Regions from separate parts of the Homo sapiens genome. Here all the other regions are linked to region 1. The links are contacts of gene promoters, found by promoter capture Hi-C in human tissues and cell types (Jung and others, 2019). All regions are on one chromosome and are shown on one strand. Each heading gives the region's core, a stretch centred on a gene start or on the middle of the fragment in contact. The rest is flanking DNA. Distances are from core to core; before and after follow the strand shown.

Region 1 (2,749 bases), core at 13-2,512:
GTGAAATTCTGGCTGAAGGGAGAGAGAAGTGTGAGCTGGAATGCTGTGACATCCCTTCATCTCCAATTGTGGAAAACTGTGGGAATGCATATTAAAGGAACCCCAGAAACTTTTGTTTTTACTAAACTGAGACTTAAAAAAACTTCATTTGGCAGTTGAACACCTCTATCCCATTGTAAGAAACAGGAAAGATTCAAAGCATGCATTCTGCTATAATTCATTTTGGGATAAGAAATAGGCAGAAGTACCTCGAAGAATAAATCATTAACTAAAAGGCAAACCGAGGCACCCTGGAAACCAGCGAGACCTGGAGGCGGCCGAGGGATCAGGCGGCTGGGATTTGCCTGTTCCCTCTGGTGACTTCTGGAGCGAAGCATCCCACAGGCAGGACGAACCCGGCACACTGCGCTCCGCTCCATTTCACTTTTCAAACTTGAAGTTATTTTTAGATGACCCAAGGCCGCTAATCCCAAGCAGGACAATTCTCAGCCCGCTGCACCTCAGTGCACCTACCCCCTCCCCAGCCTCTGCATTGGGAAGAAGGGATCTCTCGATCTTCTTTGCTCTCTGCATCCAGTTAGTCTCTTCTAGACCCTCTCTAAGCCTCAGTCCCGGGGATCACAGGCGTCATCCTCGCTCCTTCACTTATGCACCTGCTGCTGCTTCCAGGAAGGCAAACCCCCGGGCCACGGGCAGTGGGGAAGGGGCTCCTTTGGACCCGCGCCCCCTAGAGGGGGGTCGCGGGAGATCTCCGTCCCCACGGCCGCAGCCGGGACTGACCACAGATCTGGAGACAAACCCCACCCCCGCCACTGCCCCCACCCCCGCCACCGCCCCCGCCCCCGCCCCCGCCCCCGCCCTGCACCCAGACCCGGCCCGGAGACCAGATCCCCGCCGCGGACCCCCGGCACGACCCCGGGGCTGCTGTCAGCCCCGGCGGGACGGGGTGCCTGGGCGAGCCTGGCCGGCGCGGTTACATAACCGACCTGCTGGGCGTCCGCGATGCGCCGGCGGAGGCGGAGGCGGAGGCGGCGGCTGGGGCGTCTACGGGGGCCAGCTGCTAGCGCGCGGCGCTGCCTGCTCACCTGCCCGCCGGTGCGAGCGCGTGGGGGCGGCGCGGTGCCCGCGGGCCTTTGCGTGGGGCCGTACGCGGCGCGGCGCGCCCCGCCTCCCTCTCTCTGCCGCCGTGGGTCAGTGGGATTCTGCCTGCTGCCCGCTCCTCCCCGCAACCTCCGCCGCCGTCACCCGGGACAAAGCGGCTCCAGGGAGGGGCTGAGCCGGCGGCTCTCGCAGGAGCCGGCGGAGATGGGCGCGTCCCCAGCTCCGACTCATCGGGCCAACCTCCAATCAGACCCAGGGAAACCGAAAGCCCCTGTCTGGCCTCTTCTCATCTCCTCCCTCCTGACCCGGCGCCCTCCCCAGTCCCCTACCCACCGCACCTCCGGGGCTCTCACCCTGCCCTCAGCCCCGCACCCCCTCCTTTCCACTTCAGGTGCCCGGGAGGGCGCAGGAGCCTCCGGGCACCTGGCGTGGGAGCCTGGCTGCAGGAGTCCCGGCCTCAGCGGGAAGAGGCTCCTCGGGGTCCCATACTAAGCTGAGGGTGAGGGGGCAGCGACAGCCCAGAAGAAATGGTCAGAGAAGCAAACTGTGGTGGGGGAGTACTGGGAGAAAGACTCTTCTTACCAGATGTCTGAGCCCCCCGACTCTGGCTAACTGAGGAAATGTCGGGGAGCCCCTGGATGGTCCTCCCGGGCTTCTGCGCTTGGTGGGCGCTGGCGCCCTCTGGCTGGAGCCCTGCGCCCGGCCCAGCCCAGGCCGCTGAGGGTGCCCTGCGCGGGCTTCACAGCTTTGCCAGGATTTGCAGCCATCAGACCTGAGGACAGAAGGGTTCGGGCTGCAAGGAATCCTATTGTGTGAGAGCCATGACACAGTGAGTGGGAGGTTGGTATCCTACAGCAAACGGGACTGAAGGTGAATCGCAATCTAGGGTAGATCTGTTGCTCAACAAAGTTAACCCCAGTAGAAGTCTCTGCTTTACGGAATAAAGCAACTCAAATGGGTAAGGAAGCCTGTGGCTTACGGGTGGCACAGATAGGAACAGGACTGAGTCTCATGGCAAGAGAATGTGAATTATGCAAAAGATCATAGGAGAGTGCGGGAAATTAAAGGAAGGAGGTGTGCAGACCAATCTGAGGGAGGGAGTGAATAACATTTAAATCAGGTTTGTGTTCTGTCATCTTTCGAATTGCTGCATAAATAAGCCGTTTTCTTTTTGCTTTTTATGCCTTTTGATTTTCTGATAACAATATTACGATTGCACTGAAGCAGTCCATTCACAATCATTCTTCACTTACCCACACTACGTTGTTTTTTTCCAAAGTTGACATACAATCACGTTTTGTTTGTTTTCAACAAAAAAAGGTAGACGAGACGTTGGCTCTTCTCTCTGATTAATCTGCATTAACATAAACACAATTTCAGAATTGAAAATGACCTTAGGCTTCCCCTCGTTCAGCCTTCCCCTGGATGCATAAATCTGTAATTAGTCGTTGATTTAGATAATTGCCATTTGGGTTAGAATTGTCTGAAAGGGCATTCTTAAGTTGAGCAAAAACTTGCCTCCCTTTAATCATTAGTTCTCCCTTACTTTTTGAAGCCAAAGAAACCAAGTCAAATTCCTCTTCTAACTATCTTTAAAATATGTAAAAATAGCTAGCATGTCTAATGCACTCCAGGATCCCCTTTCTTT
Region 2 (2,955 bases), core at 317-2,816, 150 kb after region 1:
TCAGTACATAAGGTCACCTCCCATAAATAAAAGTAGATAAAGATTCAACCTATTCTCGACTGAGTGTGGTGGCTCACAACTGTAATCCCAGAACTTTGGGAGAACAAGGCAGGTGGATCACTTGAGGTCAGAAGTTCCAGACCAGCCTGACCAACATGGTGAAACCCTGTCTCTACTAAAAATAGGAAAATTAGCCGGCTGTGGCGGGCACCTGTAATCCCAGCTACTGGGGAGGCTGAGGCAGAAGAATCGCTTGAACCCAGGAGTTGGAGTCGCAGTGAGCCAACATCACACCACTGCACTCCAGCCTGGGTGACAGAGAGAGACTTTATCTCAAAACAAACAAATAAAAAAGATTCAACGTATTCTGTGAGATGATGGAAATCTATTCACTTTAAGGGATAATCTATAAATGGGTGATTAAGAGAGCTGGTATTTTCAGCCCTTCTCCCTCAAAATCTACAGTCCAGATACATTAAAAACATATTTTACATATCCCAGCATTTCAGAGGCTGTTCTGTCTGCTCAGAATGTTCTCTCCTTTATTATACCCATATCTACTCCCACCCAATCCCACACACTTATACCTATGAGCCTCAAACTTCTCCTGCAAATTTCTATTTGTCCTTCAAGTGTCTTCTTGAACACTACTTCCACCAGGAGGCCTTTCCTAACCCCATGAATAGCTTTGAGCCCACTATTTTCTTTATGTTAGTATTCGTGCTCCTTCTATAACACACATTCCTAATTAGAAATTGTGGTTTATTGTTTACTCATTTCTTTATATTTTTATTTTATCTTGTTTTATTGACCTTGAAGTAACTTTTTCTGTTTTAAAAAAATTTTGAATTTTATTTTAGATTCAAAGGGTACATGTGCAGGTTTGTTATACAAGTATATTGTGTTATGCTGAGGTTTGGGGCATGATTAATCCCATCACTCAGGTAATGAGCACAGTACTCAATAGTTAGTTTTTCAACCTTTGCCCCCTGCCGCCCACCCCCCTCCCTCTAGTAGTCCCCTGTGTCCATTGTTGTCATTTTATTGAAGTAACTTTTTCAAAGAATAAGTTTTAATTTTGTATTTCGTCATCCTATTACGTGTAAGATACATTTTGTGTAAGTTAATGAAAAACAGTTTTTAGATTTCCTGAGCATACATCTTCTCTATGTTACCATACCAGTATAGTATGTATACTATGCTACTATACATATACTATGCTGGTATGTATAGTATGCTACTATACATCTTCTGTATGTATAGTAGCATACATCTACTATATGGGAGGGATGGGAAGCTGACTCAAGAATAAATATTAATATATTTCATCTGTTCAATGAAATATTTAAACATGAAAGTCCCCAGAGGAGGCTCAGGTGAAAAAAACTCAATCATTTCCATACACCTCTGATAGGTAACTTAGTAAATTTTTCTGAAGGGATACGCGACTCTACAGATCAAAGGCCTTCAAAATATTTATATTATTTGATCTAAAATTCCATAGTCCAAGTATCAAGAAGCACTAAATAATCAAATAATTTCACCAACAGGTTGTGATGATCATGCATACAAGAAGAAAAAATATATATAATTCTATTGATTACTGGTAGCTTTTAAAACAAACTTTCTTGTCTTAATGGCAAGAAATGCACAAAAGGTTACATGAAAAGGAACCAAAGAAGAAAAAAGGGAAACAGAGAGAAAGAAGCCACAGAGAATAGAAGCAAGCAAAAACATTGTGAAAGCACAAAAAAGAACCAGACACAAATTGAACCAGCTCTGCGTTCCAGGGAGGACACATGGCCCCAGTACACACAATTGCAGCCTAGGAAGAAATGAAGGCAGACAGCCATACTGGAAGCATGCTGACTGTACAATCTGGTAGTCTCTGAAGATGGAGGATTTGTGAAAGGGCAAGTCAAGCTCCCATTGACCATAACAGCCCTATAAAATTTGTCAGGAAATGCCACTGTAAAGGATTTACTAAGCCATGGAATTCTAGTTTCAGGGACTGAGTAACATGTAACCAGTCCAAGAGCTGTACCCTGTAGAACACTGTATACACAGCAGTGGAACAGAGTTAGTGACATCTTGGAAGCTGTAACATGATACAGATTCCAAATATTCTCTAAAGAAAACATCAATGAGGTAACCTTATCACTTTCACGTGTCTAATTCAAATCTAAATGTATTAGGCTGCCATTCATTTGCATTTCAATGGCCAAACTATTCTACCCATAACTCTTTCCTCTTCTACCCATACCTCAAGAATAAAATAATGGACCCTCATCATTCTTGATAGAGGAATGAGGATGTAATTTTTACCTAAAACTACTCCTGGATTCCAATGTTGGATTTCGAATGGACTATCTGAAAATATTCTTTACCTGTACGATAAACGATATTTTGCACTGCTAGTTCAAAATCTACTTTTTTGGATTTTAGAAACACATTAATTCCTTCTTCTTCAGTAACAAAGGTCATTCGGTTTCCCATAGCAAAGACTGTAAATATTGGTCCATACTGAAATAAAACAAACATAGATTATATTAGTAAGCATTCCTAAGCCATGTTTAAGACCATTCTCCTCAAGAATCCTAATGCTGAAGTTATAGTCAAAAGAAAAATTATTATGATTATATTTGGCAATTAGTTATAAATTTTGATTGTTTCAGCCAGATCTGAATTATATACATTTTAATTTGTTCTGTCCTAATATGTAATATTCCCTTTGATCATTTTATTGCCTATTTATAGCTTCTTTTCTTGTACTATGAAATAAGTAGAAAATAATAATTATAAATAATTAGAAATTATATCAACATTGTGACATTTAAACATTGTTTTCAAGATATTGGTAGACTTATAAGCAACCTATAGCTGAATATTGTTCAACAAAAAGGTTCAAAATTGCCAACTGGTTTATGGGAAATCCATGGTTATTCAACAATGTCT
Region 3 (2,841 bases), core at 44-2,543, 180 kb after region 1:
GGAACTATTGAGTTCTATTAAGTTCCAGTAAGAACTCGATAGTTCTATTAAGTTCTAAATAGTAACCTTGGGCAGTCACTCCTCTGCTCAAAAGCCTCCCCTGGCTTCTGCTCTTCATCATCTAGACTCTGCTACTTCTTGCATATTCTGCTGCTGCCGGCCCAGTCTTCTGGCTGTTCCTCTAACACAGCAAGCTGACTCCTGACTCAGGGTTAGAAAACATACTGTATTTTTGCCTGGGGCAATTTCTCTTAGCTATCTACAGGGTTGTTTTCTCATGCTTTCTTTTGGTCTCTGTTCAAATGTCCACTTATCAAGAGGTCTTGCCTGATCACCCAATTTAAAATTAATAGAAACTATTCCTCCCTACCCTCTGGTACTCTCTGTCCCCTTTCCTTACCTTCTTTGTCTTCAGGGCATTTACTTCAAGAGCAAGTGCATCTGAAACACCATGTAGTTTACTTTATTGTCTCATCCCACAACAGAGAGCAAGGATTTTTGTTCATTTTGTCCATGGCTGTTTCCCCCAATGTGATCAAATGTACCTATCCATTCTTGCCTCATTACAACTTACTTCCCCATACTTTAGTGTGGGTTAACTTTATATAACTCTAGCATTGTGATGTCATTCTCCTATTTAAAACCCTTCCATAGCTCTTCATTGCCATTAGAAAAATGTATAAAAGGGCCAGGCGCGGCGGCTCATGCCTATAATCCCAGCACTTTGGGAGGTTGAGGTGAGCAGATCTCTTGAGCTCCGGAGTTGGAGACCAGCCTGGGTAATATAGTAAAACCCCATCTCTACAAAAATATTGAAAAATTAGCCAGATGCACACCTGTAATCCTAGCTACTTGGGAGGCTGAGGCACAAGAATCACTTGAGCCCAGGAGGCGGAGGTTGCAGTGAGCCGCGATCACGCCACTGCACTCAAGCCTGTGTGACAGAGACCCTGTCTTGAAAATGTATAAAATGCTTAATGTAGAATAATAGTCAGGACCTTTTATTTATAAGTGACAGGATCTCAATTCAAATTACTTGATCAAATTACTTTTTTGGCTAAAAAAGTAATTTATTGGCTCAAATACTGAAAGGCCCAGGGGTTGAGCTGAATTTAGGCATAGCTAGATTAAGGAGTCTAAATGATACATTTGACTTTCTGTCTCTTCTTCTTTTTCTCTCCCTCTATCTGTAGCTGTGCTTTCCTTGAGAACAAGAAGGATTCCTTGGTAGCTTTCATCCTGGTACACATTCCTGCCCCAAGCCTAGCATATTCTTGACACAAAAGACATTCACTGTTGACTGATGAATATTTAAACTTTTTCCATTGCCAGATTTAACCACTTATGATACAGTGAAACACTACTTGGTATTGAATACACCACTTGAGGACAATATCATGACTCACGGTTTATCAAGGTAAGGATTGTTTTAGTTGGACTCTGTTTTTTTTTTTTGTATCACTTTTTCTTCCATATTTGACATAAATTCTTTAGGCTCATTTGATTGGGATTGTACTGGCATCACCTTTAGAGAAGAGTACATTTATAAAGAGAAATTTCTTAAAGTTTCTTGCAGTTAGAATGGGGAAGAGACAGACAAAGTTGTAGGATGTTTTGGATTAAACCTCTCAAAATATTTGCATCTTGATGGGGCCATCCCAGGAACAGGCTATGATGATGGACTCTCCAACTCATTTCAACAGATATGTTTGAGTGCCTTTTATGTTAAAGGCACTGGGCAGGGCTCTGCAGTGGGCACCAAAGGGGTAAACTCAATTCCTACCCAGGGAACTTACCAACCAGGAAAACAAGACAAATATAAAAACACTCTACAGGAAATGCTAAAAGGAAGCAACTAGTTACTACAGGGTTCAGGGGAAGGAAAAAACATAACCACTTGGAAGGATCCACAAAGGAGGTAGAAATAGACAAGGGTTTTCAAAGGCTGTGACTCTTCACAGAAAGGGATACGAAGGGCTTTCCAGGAAGGAGCAGTACCTTGATCTCTTTGCAACACAATTTCAAATTATCCATTAGAATGACTTATTTTATAGATGTCTACTGTCCTTGACATTATAGTGATTTCATTTAGCTTCTGATCGTTTCCAAATTCTAAAACTTCCTATGCTATTTAGATGACCCTAAAAGTAGACAACCCTAAAAGTGTAATAGTGTCAAGTCAAATATTTGGAGGTAGGGGTGTGTGTGTGCACGCGCATGCACACACGCATGTGAATTTAACCACTCCAAGAGTATTACTGACTCGGCTTTTGCATGTACTGTTCTATCTTCTTGTAACATTCTTCCTTCAGGTCTTCATATACATGTGTCCTTTGTAACCACTCAATTCTGCTGTCACCCCCGGAGCTTTCCCTGACTGCCTGTCACCCAGTTGCTCCCTGTCACACTTCCCCATGTTTTTTTCATAGCTTTTGTCAGCTTCTGAAATTATTTATTTGACTTCTGCCTTTTCCCAAGTGAAGTATAAGCTCCTCAAGGGCAGGGTCTTACCTGTCTTGTTCACTGCCTAGAAGAATGCTTGACACCAGCAGGTGCACAATGCCTGTTTGTTGACTGACATTCTTTTTGTTGTTTTTCTACCTCTTTAATTAATTTAGCATTAATTTTAAGCAAAAAGAGCATTATGAAGCTTGTAAGAATATATTTAGTATTATATTCTTTCTGAATACCACATTCCCTTTCCTAAGCTACAAACTACTACATACCATCTTTCAATTTCATTTATTTGTATTTATAGTTTATGTTCTGGACTGGTAGCTTCTATTCTGGGAACACCAGCCGATGTCATCAAAAGCAGAATAATGAATCAACCACGAGATA

Evidence for each region. Contacts are between HindIII fragments. The study calls those that stand out against the background at their distance.
Region 2: a contact is called between a fragment that was not itself captured here and the fragment with the promoter of RCAN2 in region 1, in 1 of the 25 tissues and cell types used here (hippocampus).
Region 3: a contact is called between a fragment that was not itself captured here and the fragment with the promoter of RCAN2 in region 1, in 1 of the 25 tissues and cell types used here (psoas muscle).

Annotation. Positions count from the first base shown.
Region 1 is chr6:46,490,187-46,492,935 of GRCh38, forward strand. RCAN2 (regulator of calcineurin 2) reads right to left here and starts at 1,263. Exons shown (of 5, transcript NM_001251974.2): 1 at 987-1,263. RCAN2-DT (RCAN2 divergent transcript) reads left to right here and starts at 1,866. Exons shown (of 3, transcript NR_125837.1): 1 at 1,866-1,941. RefSeq lists silencers at 1,226-1,315, 1,826-1,885. The HindIII fragment of the contact is 8,830 bases long and covers 1-2,749 here.
Region 2 is chr6:46,639,776-46,642,730 of GRCh38, forward strand. CYP39A1 (cytochrome P450 family 39 subfamily A member 1) reads right to left here. Exons shown (of 12, transcript NM_016593.5): 2 at 2,388-2,523. Among named protein-coding and RNA genes, the nearest start is that of CYP39A1, 12 kb to the right of the region's middle. The HindIII fragment of the contact is 6,673 bases long and covers 1-2,955 here.
Region 3 is chr6:46,667,377-46,670,217 of GRCh38, forward strand. It overlaps SLC25A27 (solute carrier family 25 member 27), which reads left to right. Exons shown (of 9, transcript NM_004277.5): 6 at 1,333-1,417; 7 at 2,759-2,841. Among named protein-coding and RNA genes, the nearest start is that of SLC25A27, 16 kb to the left of the region's middle. The HindIII fragment of the contact is 7,013 bases long and covers 1-2,841 here.